Regions from separate parts of the Homo sapiens genome. Here all the other regions are linked to region 3. The links are contacts of gene promoters, found by promoter capture Hi-C in blood cells and fetal thymus (Javierre and others, 2016). All regions are on one chromosome and are shown on one strand. Each heading gives the region's core, a stretch centred on a gene start or on the middle of the fragment in contact. The rest is flanking DNA. Distances are from core to core; before and after follow the strand shown. Region 1 overlaps LINC02648 (long intergenic non-protein coding RNA 2648). Region 2 has its middle 49 kb from the start of LINP1. Region 3 holds the start of PFKFB3 (6-phosphofructo-2-kinase/fructose-2,6-biphosphatase 3).

Region 1 (3,105 bases), core at 96-2,595, 420 kb before region 3:
CACTATAAATCTTACTCAAGGGAGTTAACCCTGTCACCTGCATGTGCACAAGACCATGAGAATGACCAATCCGGACCCTTGCCTCATTATAATACTAAAATCCCTGCCCGATGAGAGGCTTATCTGCCATGTGATATATGAAAAAGTATGTCTCTACACTGCCCTTGCATGGCTGAAATTCCTTCCAAATCATGTTTACATACCTTTTATTTAACGTTGACCCCTTTTCTTCCCCCAAATAAAAGATCCCAAGCAGCTCTTCCCAGGGAGCCAGCCAGGGAATCCTTCATCCTGTGCTGTCTCCCTTGTGCTCAAGCATAAGCCCTCAATAAAGCCTTGTCTGGGAAACTTGCTTGGCTTTGTGTCAATTTCTATTGCGTGGGAGCTTAAGAACCTGTGGTCCATAACAATAACAGGTCTTACTTTAACTCTGTGTTCTACAAACACAAACCACAATGAAGAGGGCTGGGAAGGAGTAGGGACTTGGAAGTCATTCTTAAAGAACATGGTGCCAATGCTGGACGCTAGTTAAAGTTGATGAGAACAGATTTTATTCAGTCTATTGCAAAGGGAAGTGTCCAGCATAAACTGAGTTCATCTTTTGTTCTGTGCACAGGTGACTGGGTGTTTCAAGGAAAGAATCAGAAAGTAGGAGTAGGGATGGAACATAGGCTCAGTGGAGTCAGGGAAGCAGAAACTTAAAAAAGCGGGAAGGAGGTGGTTGGTTTACGTGATTAGTCCATCTGTGTTTGTTAACTGGCGATTATCCAGTTAGGCTTCTGTCCTCCCATGGAGACTAGAAGGCAGGTGCCCTATCTTCAGGGGTTGGCTGGAACAAAAAGTAAATCATTCTGGCAGCCTTGAGTTTTCCCAGGCAGGAACTTAAGGAGCCTGGAGTCCTCATCCCAGGAGTGCATCCTTGAGCTATTAGGAACCGTGCTGTGACAGTGCTGACTCCTTGTTAGAGAAAAGCTTGCTTGAATGCAATTATTGCTTCGCTTGAGTTTGTGCATTATTTACTAATAACAGCTACAGGAAAACAAGATCTTCAACAGAGATAAAAGAAAATTTGCCAACCAACAGCTCTAAGAATGGGCTGACGAACCTGTAGAAGCTCACGAAACACTGATGAAGAAAGCAATGATTAACTGGCTGCCTATTGTGCACATTTCACAGAAATGTTTTGGTCATCATTTCCCCTAATTTCCCTTAAACCCCCCCTGGATCAAGATCCAGAAGCAAAGCTCCGAGAGGTGGTCTCTGAGTGCTAGTTCACTCCCTCCTCTGGTTTGCCGGCTTCTTGAATGAAGCGAACTTTCTTTTCACCAAAGCTCTCTTGAGTTTTTGGCTTTCAAGCAATGAGTAGCCCAGATCTGAGTTCGGTTACAATGATAGTGTTTGTTTGTGTCTCTTAGTGTGGGAATGGGTAGAAAAAATTGTCTGTGCTGAGAGTCAGCCATCCTCATGGGCCAAGGTTAAGGCCTAGTTGAGAAGATGGCTCAGAGGAGCCTTAGCTTAATCAAGAAGAGAGTCTTTGTCAGCGGGCATGTAACCAAGTATCCCCATTTATTAAGACAAAGAGAACGCGTTATTTTTTCATTATTATTTTCTTCTTTTCTCTTTTCTCCTTTTCCCATCTCCCCACTTCCTACTTAGCTCTTTAGAAATGCAATTATAACATTCTGCCTTCTCCAGATGTTCTTTACAAGGCAAGCTTATCTAACTGTATACTTACTTAGAGGCTCCAGAGCAGAAACCTCTCCCCAAGGAGATGCCTCAAGAAACAACAGTCAATTTACAACCCAAAGTATTCCCGGCATGAAACTCTCTCCCACCTGGAGCATATCTTGAGACAAGTCTGCTTTGCAACCTGGTTCTGCCTGTGATGGTGCCGGCTTGAGCAGTAGATAAAGCACCGAGGCAAGTCCCATGGACCCCCAGCTGCTCACTCCCTCCCCCGCATGCCGCTCATGCCAGGCCCCCTTTTAAAAGTGCCCACTTTCTCCTCCAAAATTGAAGCAGTACCCTTAAGGCAGGAAGCCTGGACTTCTTCCCGTAAGCTAGCTTTAGAATAAAATGTCACTTTCTTTATACCAGACCTTGCTCTTGTTGATTGGACTCTGCAGGTGGTGATCAAGTGAACCTGTGATTCGGTTACAGGGAGATTGACCAAGCAGCTCCGGAGCTCAGTTTCTCCCAAAAAGTATCGTATGTAGCTTCTCCCAACGTGGTGATGAGGTTACTCGTGGACACGTAAGTAGACATAGTAGTTATCTCCACACCTTCCATGCTACCCTCCCTCTACGTGTAGCACCCATGAAATTTGAGTGTCAGAGAAGGGCAGGGTGGAGAGACACATCAAAGACTAAAACCAGGACTCTGATTCAAGAGCTAGGCCTGCTCTGCCTCTAGCCGCTAGATCTCCCTTTTTGTTTAAGACAGTCTGAGTTTGCTTTTTGGTTACTTACAACTGAAACCATCCAAACTGAAATATAAATTTTAATATAATCTTTTGGGGTAAATAAGAGAACAAATCAAACATAATCAGAGGACAAACTCTTCATTTATTGTCAAGGGAACTGCAGCTGGAAAGAATAAATACAGAATGGTTTTGCAGTTTAATAGTTTGGTGCTTCATCCATAGAAGGGATAAATTTCCAAACCTATGATTCTATTTGGAAAGATGGTGGCTAAGTCGGGCCCAGTAGTGATCTCAGACACCATCCTTTGTATGCAATGTGGTTGTTCATCTGGGCACCGTTTATTATCCCCAGCAGTAATGGGTTGCTCTAAGCATATGTTAAAATATAGTTAGTGAATAATGACCCCTTTTAAATTCATGTACCTACATAATGTCAATTTATTTGAATACTTGGCTTAAAAACCATTGTATTGAACTAGGCATGGGCACATTGACATGCTACTGCCTTTTATAACCCTGGTCTCTCTACAAGCTCATCCATTATCTCCTAATTAAACAACAAAGGTTCCTTGGAAAGGAACCCCAGTTAGACATCATTACCAAGCATTTTGCCATCATTTGCTAGATTAATGAGACTAATTATACAACCTGCAGCGATGAGTCAAGACCTTGGCGAAACAGGA
Region 2 (3,083 bases), core at 222-2,721, 490 kb before region 3:
CACAGTGGCTGAATCGGTACAGAAAATGCACTCAGCACTATGCATCTTCATTAGATTTCCATGGCATTATACTGAGGCGTAGATGATCTATCAAATTAAATGAACCCAGTAAAAACAAGGAGAAATCAGGTGCAAATAAATACTTTATTAAGGACTCCTCCTGTCTACACCAAAGAGTATTTTCTCAGTGTTGTTTTGCACACATTTCAGATGAGGATAAATAGCCTAGGCGCCAGCTTTCATCCCAACTTACTTTAAAAACAAAAATACTGCCAAGAGAACTGTATTACTTATTTCAATGTAATACGGAAATGACTCAGCACAGAGACCGAATCCTACCTGCTGGCTGATTGCTGTGTGTGTGGATACTTATCCAAGGTTCATCTTGCGTTTTTCATCCAAGAAGCTCACGATGGTTAGCAAACATAATCTGATCATCTTCAAAGGTACAACATGAAGAAATAAATCTTTTATATGATCAGCCTGCAGACATGCAACCTCAGGTGCAAGCCTCACCTGTAAGGTATTTCTTTTCTCACTTTTTATTCCAGCTTTATGGACCTGCTCCAGGCTGATGAAGGTTCCCCACTAGCTCTTACCCCTGACCCTGTAAGGCTTTTTCCCGCTGCCCTGGATTCCCACAGCTTCTGGAAGGACCCCCTTCTTGTGGCTCCTGACAACTTGTCCTTGAGGACTCTGTTTCTGTTTTATACTTGGCATTCAGCCAGGGGCCCTTTTATGCCCTTCCTAGCAGTACCTTTTCACAGCTATAGTAGTATTTCTTTTGTGCATTGAAATTGCCCCCTTTACGTGGGTGCACCCTCAGGTCTCCTCTGGAAAGGGCAGCTATGGACTCAGGGTAGGCAAGGAGCTTGGCTGATGGCAGGGGTGTGGTTTGTTCTTGCCCAATCTGAGCCGAGGCCTGAGTCCTCCCTGTGGACAATTTGTCCAGAACCCTGACAAACTGAGGCAGAATAAAATTTAGACAGAGTGTCCAAAGAGATACCAACAGGCCTTGGGAAATAATCATGGCAAATATTAACTGAGCACTTATGTGCCAGACACAGTTTATATGTGCTTTAGACATGACACACGGTATATGAAAAAGGACGTTTGGCGGTGGGGAAGTACCAAGTATCCCCCATTTCAAAGTCCAGACCATCTATTCAGGACTTGGAAGGTGGTGTCTGAGAGCAAGTTTTGTAATGGTTCGCTGATCTGCTGTCTTCCAGAGTGTGTAATAAACCAGATGGAGGCTGCAGAAAGAGTTGGGAGGACAGACCTTGGAGAGCACTGCTGGCATGCTGAGACCATTGCTCAGGGGCTGTATCTTGCCCACCTTAAACACCTGAGAGGGGTTTCAAGGGGACACATTTATCTGTATCCTCTGAAGCTTGGGTGGCACAGGCAATGGGTATGTGAAGCAAGCCTGGGAGATGTAAGGGTGATATCCTGCGCTGAGGTCCAAGGCCGCAAAGTACAAAAAGATGCGGAACTGCATTGGAGAGACCTGCTCCTGGCCAGCCACATGGGGTGACATGAAGCTTGAGTGGCCATGAGCCAGTGGGTCTCTTTGCACTGGACTTTGTCTGGGAAGACTGCCTGTGAAAAAAGGGAGGCAGAAAAGGATGGATCTTCAGAGGCCCAAGGAAGGAGGGGAGCATCGAAGAGGCTCCCTGGCATGTGCAGGAGCTGCTGTAGGGGTGGACCCAGCTTATTGGGCATCTCACAACCCTCCAAAGAGCCCCATGGGACAGCATCTGCATGGACATCTGCAGAGCCAGAGAGTGTCACTGCTAGATTAAGACAATTCCAGCCACTTACTCTCCTCGTCCCCTGTCCCCTACCTGCCCCGAAGGCACCAAGAATGAGAGTAGGAGTGGGGCAGGGAGGGGCTAAGGAAGCAGCAGACACCGCTCCCCAACTCTACCTCAGGCTTCCAGGTCTAAGTGATACTAACAGAAGGAGAAGCTCTAAATGGAACAAGAGCTCTAACTGCATCATTACACTGCACTGGGTGTTTAAACTACTGAACTACGAGGTTCTTGCAACTAAAATGGACCAGAAACTATAAGACCTGCCTGCCGGGACAGAACAAGAACTGACCCAAACTTGGATTGGAAGGTACAGTGGGAGGAAGAAGAGGGTTGGGTTTACGGTTTTACCCCACTGGGTTCACCTCAAATATGATCAAGTAACATAGTCAGTTACTTGATCCTCACAATTTTCTCAAGAGAAAGATGCAGAGCAGGTCCCTGGATGGCCTTGGTGACCCAGCTCTTCCCTCTTTGTCACTGGTAGTTCTCAGAATAACCTTAGAATGTGCTGGGGATGCAACATCCTGAGATGAGGAGGCACTGGCCAAAACAGCCTGGGTTCTGTTTCTATCCTTCCTACAACGCTTTAGCCCAGGAAGCCAAGTTTTCCCTGGAGTATAAAACCCAGGGTGGAGAGCTTTTGCAGTCCATCGGCTGCAGTAAGCAATGTGAGACTGCATCTGCCCTGACAGTTTCCTGAGCCTTGGGGGACTGGTACACCGTGACCCCTAGCTTTCTCCTGTCCCTTGCTGCCTATCCATGAGTCATAAAGCCACTTTGCTTAACTTGTTGTGTGGGGGCTCGCTCTCACCTGTCTTGTGCAAGTGGTAGAAACTGCAGCCCCAGATGCAGAATGCTGCAGTGTTGGAATAGTGTGCACAGTGAGCCAGCTTTACAATAGGTGTAATAGCTGATGATATTTTACTCAAGAGAAGGCTGAGGCTCAGAAATATTCAGCACAACAACCTCTTAGACCATATGGCTAGTGGGAGGTAGCATCAAGATCCACAACCAGGTAGTTCATCCCCACAGCCACATCCTTAACCACTGTATTATAGCAACCTACCAAATTGTGTAGAAGGAACATTTAAAGCCAGAGCATTTAGGCTAAAGTCCTGGCTTCAGCCATAAGTAGCAGTTTAACTAGGGGAAATTAACTAAAGCTCAAGTATGATCATCAATAAAATAGGGCTAAAAACATCTTCCACGTCTACTTCTTAGAACTTTACTAAGATTTAAATTACATAATTCTTATGAAAATACAGA
Region 3 (3,017 bases), core at 258-2,757:
GGCCGTCCTAAGAAACGTAGTAGCCGGGCAACCCTGCCTGCCAGCCGCCTGCGCTCAGGCGCCTTCGGATGACCCGAAGCCACCTCGAGAGTTTGCACCTGGATCCCACGGTCACTACTCAGGCTACGACCTGACCTGGGCAAAACCGCACCAGGCGGCTCCCTGTCCAGCCCATGGGAGCCGGGGCGCATTACCTGGAGAGGCAGCGTCGCCCCTCTGCGCTGCCCACCCGCCCTTTTCCGCGGCGGCGCTCCGCAGCTGAGGTGGAGCTCGAGGTAACCCTCTCCCAAGCGATCGCTGGTGGCGGGGGCGGCGACCGGCGGGGCGGGGCAGGGTACTGCCAGCCAATTCCGAGCACCGGGGGGTGCGTGCGCCCGGGGCGCGTGGAGCAGCGCCAACCGTGCACTCACCAACCCACCGACCCTCCCCAAAGCCGGGGACACAGGCGTGGCTCCAGGTGGCTCTCCTGGCGCCCCCAGCACGGGCGCCCCCATGGCACTGGAGATGCACGGAAGAGAGAGAAGGAGAGAGAAAGAGATAAAAGCAGAAAGAAACAGTGGGAGAGGAAGGAGGTAGAAACAGAGAAAAACAGAGACATATATATCGAAAGAGAAAACAGGACAGAGAAATAGGTTATTAAGTGAAGCGAGGGGATAGGAATGCATAGCAAGGCGGGAGAGGAGATGGAAACATGCAGAGAGAGGAGATCCGGACGGTGAAAAGGGGCGGAGGCGCGAGCGGCCGGGTCCCTGGGCTGCGCTCCGGCGACGGCCGCCCGAGACGGGTGTCGAGGACAGGGATCGCGGAGGATGTGGATCCCCTCCCTGGCCTGCCCAGGCGCGCGCGTCCCTCCGTCTCGGGGTACGCAGCCCGGCCGGGCGCACTCGCCGTTTCCGGGCCGGCGGGGCAGCCACCGGGACAAGGGCCACAGCGCCCCCGCCGCCCGGCCAAGGACGCGCAGCCCGCGCCTCCGCCCCGCCCCGCCGGCGCGACCCGCACGGGCGCGCCCCCCGCAGAGGGGCGTCGGCACAAAGCCGCCCCACACAATGGCCCGGCCCGGCGCAGCCCGCCCTGCAACCCGGCTCCGCGCAGCTGCACTCACATCTGGGCAACGAGGGCCTGTGGTCCACGGGCACCCAGATCTTCTGCACTCGGCTCTGCGTCAGTTCCAACGGCATCTTCGCGGCTGCGCCCGACGGCCCGCCTCCCGGGGCCGAGATCCCGACGCTGGCAGGAGAGCGGCCGCCGACCCCCGGAACAAAGGAGGAGAGGGGGGCGTGCGCCGGCGCGCGGCCGGGCGTTTCCTGCGCTGCCAGGGGAAACGTGCTTTGGGCTAAGTTCCGGACCCTCGCCTGTGCGGGGCTCGACGTGTGCTGCGAGGGTAGCGAGGCTGGGGATGCCCGGCACGGCCGGCTCGTCCGCTCGGAAAGCTCTGGGATGCTCGGGCGCAGTGACAGCCGCGCTCTCGCCACCAGGCCCTGCTGCTCGCCTCCTCTCCGGCTTGGCTGGGATGCCCCGCGCACCGCCGGCTTTTAAAGAGTCCGGGCTGGCCGCAGACGCGTACGTCAGCCTCGGGGCGGGCCGCATTCCTTGGGTCCCAGCCCCCTTCCACGTGGGGAGGAGGGTGGGCGAGCCGGGAAGCAGCCTGCGAGCTCCCCCTGCGGGCCGGCGACGGCGGTGCACCAGCTCCCGCCGCCCTGCCCCGGGCCTGGAGCGCGCCCAGCCCTGCTGAAGGGTCCTGGCTGCTGTTATCCCCTCGTCCCGTTGTCCCCTCGGGACGTCTGGCACAGCTTCCCCGACTAATTCCGGCCCCTCACCTCAACTGTGCTGGCCGGGAGGAGAGCAGAGACGCAGTCCTGCCCAGTGTAGACCGTGGACCCCGCAGCCGAATCCCTTGGGAAGCTGCTTAAAGTGCATCCTACCAATGCAGCTCCTTTAGGGCCATGGAGCCCCAATACTCTGCATTCCTAACACGCGCTGTGGGGCAGGCGCAGTCCAGGTAAGGACATGGGCCAGGCTGCTCCCTGATAATACCCGTGAGCCCATCCCCCGCCACGACCCGGGCGACCCGCGGGGAGGAGGCTTCCCTGATCCTCCCACCTCACCTCGTCCTTGTCCACTTTGCTGAATCCCTTAGAAACCTGGACTTGAACTGAGCCTTGCTCCCCTCCCCTAGCCCAAAGACTGGGAACCTTGAGAGGCCCGCGGTGCTGGGTACGAGGAGGGGGCGGGAAAGCCCCGGGGAGCTGGACTGAAGTGGACTGGGGCTGGGGGCAGCTGGCATCTGGTTTTCACACTCACCATGTACACCATTCAATAAACCTTTATCGCCCCGAGTAGAAGAATGAATAAAACTAGACCCATTTCGATCTGCAATTCATTACCTAAGTCGAGGGAAAACTATTGGGGGCGGCCCCTTATTAGGCAGACTCCTAAAATTCACTCCGTTATCCTGCACACCCTGCAGCTCTGCCTCCCCACTTTTTGGTGCATGCGTGCCCCGTCTCCTTTCCCGGCCCTCGCAGTTTGCACCAGCTCGCGACTTGTGACAGTCGTGCAGTCAGGTCAGAGGCGTGCGGGGAAGATCTGGGTTGCTTTTGGTGGGGAACCGCCGCCCGCGCCGGGACGGATGTAACTTTTGCAAACGAAGCCTCAGTACGGGAGCGCTGCGCCGCCTTGCAGAGAGGTGCACACTTAGCGCTGAGGCTGGGCTGTGATTGGAGGGAAGGCGGCGCTCGCTGAAACCTACACCGCGGCGGAAAAGTCTGCGCAGAGGCTGCCACACGTCGCTCACGTCCCGCATGCTCCACAGGGAGGGCGCCCGCGCCCAGGCGGCGACCGGGGCTGCTCCCGCCCCGCGCGCCCGCCCCACCCGGGCCTCCACTCCTCCCGACCCGCCGCCTGCCGAGGGGCCCCGGAACGCGCAACATCGGCCACCTGGCCTGTGCCCCGCCACCCTCCCCCACGCCTCGACCCCCACTCCCCCTCCCGCCTCGACCCCCACTCCGGCACCCCGC

The links. Contacts are between HindIII fragments. The CHiCAGO score rates a contact against its expected background, and 5 or more counts as called.
Region 1: a contact is called between a fragment that was not itself captured here and the fragment with the promoter of PFKFB3 in region 3, in 1 of 17 cell types (non-activated CD4 T cells). The highest score is 5.0, in non-activated CD4 T cells.
Region 2: a fragment that was not itself captured here is called in contact with the fragment with the promoter of PFKFB3 in region 3 in 1 of 17 cell types (total CD8 T cells); the score reaches 6.5 in total CD8 T cells.

What each region holds. Positions count from the first base shown.
Region 1 is chr10:6,621,828-6,624,932 of GRCh38, reverse strand. LINC02648 (long intergenic non-protein coding RNA 2648) reads right to left here. Exons shown (of 6, transcript NR_120634.1): 3 at 3,071-3,105. Among named protein-coding and RNA genes, the nearest start is that of LINC02648, 4.7 kb to the right of the region's middle. The HindIII fragment of the contact is 742 bases long and covers 975-1,716 here.
Region 2 is chr10:6,686,493-6,689,575 of GRCh38, reverse strand. No RefSeq gene overlaps it. Among named protein-coding and RNA genes, the nearest start is that of LINP1, 49 kb to the left of the region's middle. The HindIII fragment of the contact is 151 bases long and covers 1,396-1,546 here.
Region 3 is chr10:6,201,422-6,204,438 of GRCh38, reverse strand. It overlaps PFKFB3 (6-phosphofructo-2-kinase/fructose-2,6-biphosphatase 3), which reads right to left and starts at 1,507. Exons shown (of 15, transcript NM_004566.4): 1 at 1,103-1,507. The coding sequence starts at 1,178. PFKFB3-AS1 (PFKFB3 antisense RNA 1) reads left to right here and starts at 1,682. Exons shown (of 2, transcript XR_007062045.1): 1 at 1,682-1,999. RefSeq lists enhancers at 1-38, 1,778-2,282, 2,837-3,017, silencers at 355-434, 665-1,174, 1,295-1,404, 1,455-1,784, 2,815-3,017 and a cis regulatory region at 1,313-1,844. The HindIII fragment of the contact is 24,291 bases long and covers 1-3,017 here.